3 separate regions of the Homo sapiens genome follow, and regions 1 and 2 are each linked to region 3. Evidence: promoter capture Hi-C in human tissues and cell types (Jung and others, 2019). All regions are on one chromosome and are shown on one strand. Each heading gives the region's core, a stretch centred on a gene start or on the middle of the fragment in contact. The rest is flanking DNA. Distances are from core to core; before and after follow the strand shown.

Evidence for each region. The method cuts DNA at HindIII sites, captures the fragments that hold promoters and counts their contacts. A contact is called where the count stands out against the background at its distance.
Region 1: a fragment that was not itself captured here is called in contact with the fragment with the promoter of ZSCAN29 in region 3 in 1 of the 25 tissues and cell types used here (spleen).
Region 2: a contact is called between a fragment that was not itself captured here and the fragment with the promoter of ZSCAN29 in region 3, in 1 of the 25 tissues and cell types used here (spleen).

The regions. Positions count from the first base shown.
Region 1 is chr15:43,532,774-43,535,473 of GRCh38, reverse strand. PPIP5K1 (diphosphoinositol pentakisphosphate kinase 1) reads left to right here. Exons shown (of 32, transcript NM_001394395.1): 32 at 1-1,999. The coding sequence ends at 800. Among named protein-coding and RNA genes, the nearest start is that of MAP1A, 17 kb to the right of the region's middle. The HindIII fragment of the contact is 7,344 bases long and covers 1-2,700 here.
Region 2 is chr15:43,624,299-43,626,998 of GRCh38, reverse strand. No RefSeq gene overlaps it. Among named protein-coding and RNA genes, the nearest start is that of STRC, 6.8 kb to the right of the region's middle. The HindIII fragment of the contact is 5,185 bases long and covers 1-2,700 here.
Region 3 is chr15:43,369,599-43,372,298 of GRCh38, reverse strand. ZSCAN29 (zinc finger and SCAN domain containing 29) reads left to right here and starts at 1,256. Exons shown (of 6, transcript NM_001372080.1): 1 at 1,256-1,741; 2 at 2,274-2,700. The coding sequence starts at 2,386. It overlaps TUBGCP4 (tubulin gamma complex component 4), which reads right to left and starts at 1,198. Exons shown (of 18, transcript NM_014444.5): 1 at 867-1,198. The coding sequence starts at 944. RefSeq lists an enhancer at 1,068-1,187 and a silencer at 1,288-1,557. The HindIII fragment of the contact is 7,589 bases long and covers 1-2,700 here.

The DNA.
Region 1 (2,700 bases), core at 77-2,576, 160 kb before region 3:
GCAGTGGCCCTTCTAGCACTGTGTCCAGTGCTGGTCCTTCTTCCCCTACTACAGTAGATGGTAACTCCCAATTTGGCTTCAGTGATCAACCCTCCCTAAATTCACACGTGGCTGAAGAACATCAAGGCCTTGGGCTGCTCCAGGAGACCCCTGGGAGTGGAGCACAAGAGCTCTCCATAGAAGGGGAGCAAGAGCTTTTTGAACCAAATCAGTCCCCACAGGTGCCACCTATGGAAACCAGCCAGCCATACGAGGAGGTCAGCCAGCCATGTCAGGAGGTCCCTGACATCAGCCAGCCATGCCAGGACATTTCTGAGGCGCTCAGCCAGCCATGTCAGAAGGTCCCTGACATCAGCCAGCAATGCCAGGAGAACCATGACAATGGTAACCACACATGCCAGGAGGTCCCTCACATCAGCCAGCCATGCCAGAAGTCCAGCCAACTGTGCCAGAAAGTCTCTGAGGAAGTTTGCCAGCTATGTCTGGAGAACTCCGAGGAGGTCAGCCAGCCATGCCAGGGGGTCTCTGTGGAGGTTGGCAAGCTGGTCCATAAGTTCCATGTAGGGGTTGGTAGCTTGGTCCAGGAAACCCTTGTAGAAGTTGGCAGCCCAGCTGAAGAGATCCCTGAGGAGGTCATCCAGCCATACCAGGAGTTCTCTGTGGAGGTTGGCAGGCTGGCCCAGGAGACTTCTGCGATCAATCTGTTATCTCAGGGCATCCCTGAGATTGATAAACCATCCCAAGAGTTCCCTGAGGAGATTGATCTGCAGGCCCAGGAGGTCCCTGAGGAGATAAATTAGAAGTCCTGGGTGGTCCCTGAAGTGATTGATCAGCTGCCTGGAGAGGGTATTCCTCAAGCCCAGCATCCATCTGGTGATCCAAACCCTCAGAGCCAGTCTCTAGCCCATGACCAGCACTCACCCCTTCCACCAGCAACATGTGATTAATTTTCTCATTAGTGGTATCACACTATACCAGCCATTTGAGCCAGCAACCTTTTCTGTTGGCTAACTCACTGGCCAGCTCTCACCAGCGGTGTCTGGGGAAGTAGTTCTCTTTGTATGAAGCATACCTGTGCCAGAGCTGTGGTTGAGGAGGAGCCAGTTTTAGGTTCGAAGAAGCCATTGGCTCCTCACTTAGCCATTAGACTTGAATAGGATTTCCTTGGGGTGGGTTGGTCTGTCATTACCCAGCCTTCTCTGAGCATCCTAGGAAATCACAGATTGTTAAAGGAAATGCCGCTTCACTGCTGAAGACACCATCTGGCGACAGCAAATGCAAAAGAGGGGACTCTAGGGTCTTCACTTTTCTGGGGAAATGTTCACGACTTCTCAAGGTACGCTTAGACCATATGTGCATTCAGGGGACTCTTGTCTTTGCCAGCACTCCTCAGGTGAGCCCGGGATGGCTATCTGAAATGTCTGGAAAATAGAGTCCCTTCCCCAAACATCTGACATGGCCACTAAATCTTTAGACTTGCCTTATAGATCCTTCCATATCATCCCCAAGTGCCCCTTCTGCCTCAGTCCTGTTCCTCTGGGCAATAGCTCTAGGGAAAAGTAGGTATTAGACTGCTGTGCAAAATTCAGAGCAACTACTTAAAATGCTCTAGAGGATTCTTAGCCAGTCTGTGAAAGTGGGCCTCCTCTGTGGTGGGGCTGTTTGGCTTAGGAGATGCTGTAGTAGTAGAGATAATCAGGTTCTATTTTAAGCAATCAGCAGAGATCAATATTGTACAGATACAAGCAAAGGTTTAATAAATATATATATATATATTTATTTCTGTAGTTGTGCCAGGGACAGACTGGCCAAAGACCAAACACTGCAGGGTCCCCAAGAAATTTGTCCTTATATCATTGTGTCTGAGGGCCAGATATGATTATGAAGCTTTTTCCAAAGATCCAGGGATGGGAATGGGAGTGGGTAGGAGGGGTAATGCGGTCATTGGAGTCGGGGGCTGGAACATTATGAGTGCTCAATAAATATAAACTAATGAGAATGGTGGTGATGGATGATGGTGATGTCCTTGTGAATTCAAGAATGAATATAGGCTGGGCACGGTGGCTTACACCTGTAATCCCAGCACTTTGGGAGGCCAAGGCGGGCAGATCATTTGAGGTCAGGAGTTGGAGACCAACCTGGCCAACATGGTGAAACCTTGTCTCTACTAAAAACACAAAAATTAGCCAGGCATGGTGGTGGACACCTGTAATCCCAGCTATTCGGGAGGCTGAGACAGGAGAATCACTTGAACCCTGGAGGCAGAGGTTGCAGTGAGCCAAAATCACGCCACTGCCCTCCAGCCTGGGCAAAAATGCAAGACTCTGTCTCAAAAAAAAAAAAAAAGGAATACGACTATGAGTCAATTGTGTCTGTAACTGATTAATCTGAATCGGTCAAAAGCCATTATAGTTGAGCAGGAATGGGCTGTAAAAATACAGAGATCAGGCATCCAAAAATAGACTATAAAAATATAGAGATCAGCTGGGCGTGGTGGCTCACATCTGTCTGTAATCCTAGCACTTTGGGAGGCCGAGGTGGGTGGATCATGAGGTCAAGAGATTGAGACTATCCTGGCCAACATGGTGAAACCCCATCTCTACTAAAAATATAAAAATTAGCTGGGCATGGTGGCACATGCCTGTAATCCCAGCTACTCGGGAGGCTGAAGCAGGAGAATTGCTTGAATCCAGGAGGTGG
Region 2 (2,700 bases), core at 49-2,548, 250 kb before region 3:
AAGGCTGCAGTGAGCTGTGAATGAGCTACCACACTCCAGCCTCCTAATAATCCAAACAAATTATTAGAAGAAAAGAAGGCTGGAGACAGAAACCCGAGAAACAGAAACGTTTAAAAGATAGAAAGAGAAGGCCGGGCATTGTGGCTCACGCTTGTAATCCCAGCACTTTTGGGAGGCCGAGGCGGGCGGATCACGAGGTCAGGAGATCCAGACCACGGTGAAACCCCGTCTCTACTAAAAATACAAAAAAATTAGCCGGGCCTGGTGGCGGGTGCCTGTAGTCCCAGATACTCGGAGAGGCTGAGGCAGGAGAATGGCTTGAACCTGGGAGGCGGAGCTTTCAGTGAGCCGAGATCGCGTCACTGCACTCCAGCCTGGGTGACAGAGAGAGACTCCATCTCAAAAAAAATAATAAAATAAAAATAAGTATAGAGGCCAGGCGCAGTGGCTCACACCTGCAATTCCAGCACTTTGGGAGGCTGAGGTGGGCGGATCACGAGGTCAGGAGTTCGAGACCAGCCTGACCAACATGGTGAACTCCCATCTCTACTAAAAATACAAAATTTAGCTGGGTGTGGTGGCACACACCTGTAATCCCAGCTACTCAGGAGGCTGAGGCAGGAGAATCGCTTGAACCCAGGAGATGGAGTTTGCAGTGAGCCGAGACTGTGCCACCGCACTCCAGCCTAGGCGACAGAGCGAGACTCCATCTCAAAAAAAATATATAGAATCTCAGGCCTCATCACCCAGGCCTATTGAATCAGGTGATGTAGCTGCACATAAAAGATTCAGAAGTGGCCGGGTGTGGTGGCTCACGCCTGTAATCCCAGCACTTTGGGAGGCTGAGGCAGGTGAATCATGAGGTCAGGAGTTCAAGAGATGGTGAAACCCTGTCTAATAAAACTACAAAAATTAGCTGGGCGCAGTGGCAGACGCCTGTAATCCCAGCCTCAGGAGGCTGAGACAGGAGAATCGCTTGAATCTGGGTGGCAGAGTTTGCAAAAAAAAAAAAAAAAGATTCAAAAGCACTGCTTTATAGGTATTTGATGAATATTCCCTCCTTCCCCTTTTTTCCTCCAACACTACACAGATGTGCCCTTCTGACTTTCTTTTGTTTTCTTTTCTTCCCTTTTTCCCTCCCTAGCTCCCTTCCTTTCTCTCTCTCTCTCTCTCTCCCTCTCTCCCCTGCCCCCTCTTTTTTTCTTTCTTTTTCCCACACAGAGCTGGCTGTGCAGGAAACTGGAGTTTTCTTATTATTACTCAAATTAGTCTGTTCTGACATTTTCGAGATGGAGTATCACTCTGTCGCCCAAGCTGGAGTGCAGTGGCACAATCTATGCTCATTGCAACCTCTGCCTCCTGGGTTTAAGCGATTCTCGTGCCTCAGCCTCCCAAGTAACTGGGACTAGAGTCACGCCACCACGCCTGGCTAATTTTTGTATTTTTAGTAGAGACGAGTTTTTGCCATGTTGGCCAGGCTGGTCTTGAACTCCTGGCCTCAAATAATCCGCCCCTCCTTAGCCTCCCAAAGTGCTGGGATTACAGGCGTGAGCTACTGTTCCCTGGCCCCCTCCTGACTTCCTATAGCTGATCTGTGGTCTGTGCGTTCTGCATTTTATTCTTTAACTCTTTCCTCAGTGAAAACAATCTGGCTTTAATTCTACAGGAATGGAAGTTTATTCAACAAATTTGTTGAGTTTGTACATTCCAAACATTGTTCTAGACACTTGGGATATATCAGTGAATGAACAAAACAGAAATCCCTGTCCCTCCTAACTAGTTCCTCATATGATCAAATAATAAAACGTCCGTGAAGATAGTAATTTTATCTCCTCCCCTGTTTTGTGGTTGTTGTTTATTTGGTTTGGTTTGGTTTCTGAGACAGGGTCTTGCTCTTTCACCCAGGCTGGAGTGCAGTGGTGCAGTCATAGCTCACTGCAGCTTTGATCTTCCAGGCTCAAGTGACTCTCCTGCCTCAGGCTCTCAAGTAGTTGGGACTACAGGTGCATACCACCACACCCGGCTAAATTTTTTAATTTTTTGTAGAGATGGGGGTCTCGCTGTGTTGTAATACGTCCAAAACTGAACTTATTACCACTTCTTCAAACCTGTTCTTCCTATTCTAATCTCAAGAACTGCTAAACAGTTTCTATGGGCTGGGGGAGTCCTCAAAGATCTCCTTGCTGCTTAACTTTTTCTGTATTTTGTTTGAAGGTCTTTCACTTAAGATGCTATTTCTTGTACCAATTTTTGTATTAAGATTCTTTAAGTTGGCAAGGCGCAGTGGCTCACGCCTGTAATCCCAGGACTTTGGGAGGCCAAGGCAGGCAGATCACCTGAGGTCAGGAGTTTGAGAGCAGTCTGGCCAACATGGAGAAACCCCGTCTCTACTGAAAAATACAAAAAACATCTGGGCATGGTGGCTTGCACCTGTAATCCCAGCTACTGAGGCTGAGGCAGGAGAATCGCTTGAACCTGGGAGGCGGAGGTTGCAGTGAGCCGAGATTGTGCCATTGCACTCCAGCCTGGGCATCAACAGCAAAACTCCATCTCTAAAAAAAAGAAAAGATTCTTTTTTTTTTTTTTTTTCCGAGTTGGAGTCTTGCTCTGTCTCCCAGGCTGGAGTGCAGTGGCACAATCTCAGCTCACTGCAAGCTTCTCCTCCCAGGTTCATGCCATTCTTCTGCCTCAGCCTCCCAG
Region 3 (2,700 bases), core at 7-2,506:
TAAGAATCGGCATGTCTTGGTGATCAGACGGACCTAGATTTCAGTCTTGCCACTACTAGGACTGGCCAGCATAAAGTTTTCTGAGCTTCAGTTTGCTCATTTGTTAACTGGTAGAAACAATACCTAAGTGGACTAAATTATTGAGAGCATTAGATAACATTACTGGAAGCAGAAGCAGGTAAAAGTAGTTCAAATACTGAAGCCAGACAGACCTGGCTTCAAAACTAAGCTCTGTTAATTACTAGCTATGACCCCGATAGTTATTTAACTATTCTAAACCTAGCTTAATCTGTAAAATGGATAAGGTGGTTGTGAGGATTAAATAAGATAATGCATACGGAACATCATACATTCCTGGTTACACAAAGGCCCCCTACCAAGTGCTTTACCTAGTGCAGAAATTTTCTGGTAAAGGAGTAATGAGGGAAACACCACACGCTCTCGATTTCATTTATTTCCTTCAACAAACTTTACTGAGCGCTTACCATGTGTTTGGGAGCTGTGTATTTGGCCCAGTACTTCAAAACTCAAACAATGCACGTGTGAAAATAAATAGGAGAAAGTGCCTCCCACACTTCTATATCATTCCCCAGCAACTGTCAGACACCTGGACCTCAGGCCCTTTCCTCGCCCCGCCACAGGTGGGGCTCTTCGAGGTCTGCCCTCCGTTTTCTAGCCTAGGCCCGGCCTCTCTAGGTGTCGCATCAGCCTTGACCCTAAGGGGCTGCCCTCCAGTCACCTGTCCAGGGATACGCCCCCAGCCCTGGAAGCCCCGCTCGCTAGGTCCCTCAGCCTACTCCCCCAGGCGCTGGCTCAGGTCCCCCCTCCTGCGCTCCCTGGTTCCCGCGCTCTGCGCCGGACAGTACCTGCAGGCCACTCCGCTTGTTCCAGGTGAAAATGGACCCAGGGTACCCGCTCAGAGCCAAGAGCAGTTCGTGGATCATTCCCACGGCGGACCTCGAGTCCCTGGTTATGTCACCCCCTCCTCCAGCGCACCTCCAGGCGACCACGAGGGGAGTGCTTCCCCTTCCACACGCGCACCGGCCCCTGGGTCGGGCGGTTTGTGCCGAATCAACCCACCGAGACAATCGCTGCGGCGGAGCGGACGGGAAGCTGGGAAGGGGTCGCGGGGGAGTCCCGGAAGTTCGGCAGCTCAACGGGGTCCACCAGCTACTCCCGCCCGGGCTCTGCGGAGACTGAGTCGCGGTCGCTGCCCTCGCGCATGCGCCCTCGGTGCCCCGAGCCGCCCGCTCGGACTTCCGGTTTGGGAGCTGTACTTGGGAGGCTGGAGAGCCGGGGCCGGGGCCGGGGCCGGGGCCGGGGTCAGGGTCGGACCCCGAGTGGGTGAGGCTGGCCCGGAGGCAAGGATGCGAGGGGGTTGAGGGGCAGCTCGAGAGGGAGACGCTCCCAGGGGTGGGCTGGAGGGCGCCCTCAGGGCGCCTTAGCCGGGTCAGAGGCCTCTGGAGGGACCGCACGACGGCTCCGGGTTACCCGGCCGGAGGGAGCGGAGACAAAAGAGGCCAGAATCCCGCAGCCGCTGCTCCTTGGGCTGAGAGCTCTGCGTCCGCGAACCGGCAGCACCTGGAGCCTCTGGCCGACACCCGAGCCCGTCCTCAGGAAGCCCGTTACTACTGCTCCTCGGATTCCGTCTCTCCTGCCCAATGTGACTCTCCCCAAGCCCCCATGGTCCTCGCTTTGGAGCCAAAACCAGCTTCTCTCCTTGCGCGAGGTTTTCCGACAGGTAGCTCCCTAATCCTTGCTGAGCGGCTACTACTACGCGGGGAAAACAAAGACCCGAGATTCTGGACGTGATTTTTGCCTGGGGTGGGCTTTGGGAGTTGTGCAGCCCGAGGGGGCGGGGCGGACGCAGAAGGCCTCGGGAAGGACTGCGGAGATACTGGGGGAGATCAGCTGCGACCAGCTGGACAGAGGCTTTTTGTTGCCTTCAAGCAGGATGGTGACTTGTCTTTAGATCCTCTCGAACTCCAGCTCTCCTATATGGTTCGGACTCACTGTGCAACATTGGCCAGGGAAGTTAAATGGGATCGGATTTGGAGGAGGTGGGAGAGGGGCAGACAGTACTTTTATTCTCTGCTGCTTCCTGGGGCTGCCCTGGAAGTCAACCAGAAAAGCAGTTTTTGCAAAGTCTATTTACTGAAGATTGTGCTACCTTAGAAGGCCACTCGGAGCACATGGAAAGGCAGGCCAGCTCTGGCAAGACTTTAGACATATGAATGTATTCCTTCTGATAGTGCCATCTTTCTCTGCCCTAGGAAGAAACACCTCTTACAGTCATCTGCAGGGGATTCTCCAAGGACATGGGAAGATAGATGTAAGCCCTGGAACCCAGACTCCTAAGCGAAGGGAAGCTGCATTCTGCTATTAATGATGGCCAAATCAGCTCTAAGAGAGAATGGCACTAACTCTGAGACCTTCCGACAGCGTTTCAGGAGATTCCATTACCAGGAGGTGGCTGGGCCGCGGGAGGCTTTCAGCCAACTCTGGGAACTTTGCTGTCGGTGGCTAAGGCCGGAGGTGCGCACCAAGGAGCAGATTGTAGAACTGTTGGTGCTAGAGCAGTTCCTGACCGTCTTACCTGGGGAGATCCAGAATTGGGTACAGGAACAATGTCCAGAAAATGGAGAGGAGGCAGTGACTCTCGTGGAAGATTTAGAAAGAGAGCCTGGAAGACCTAGATCT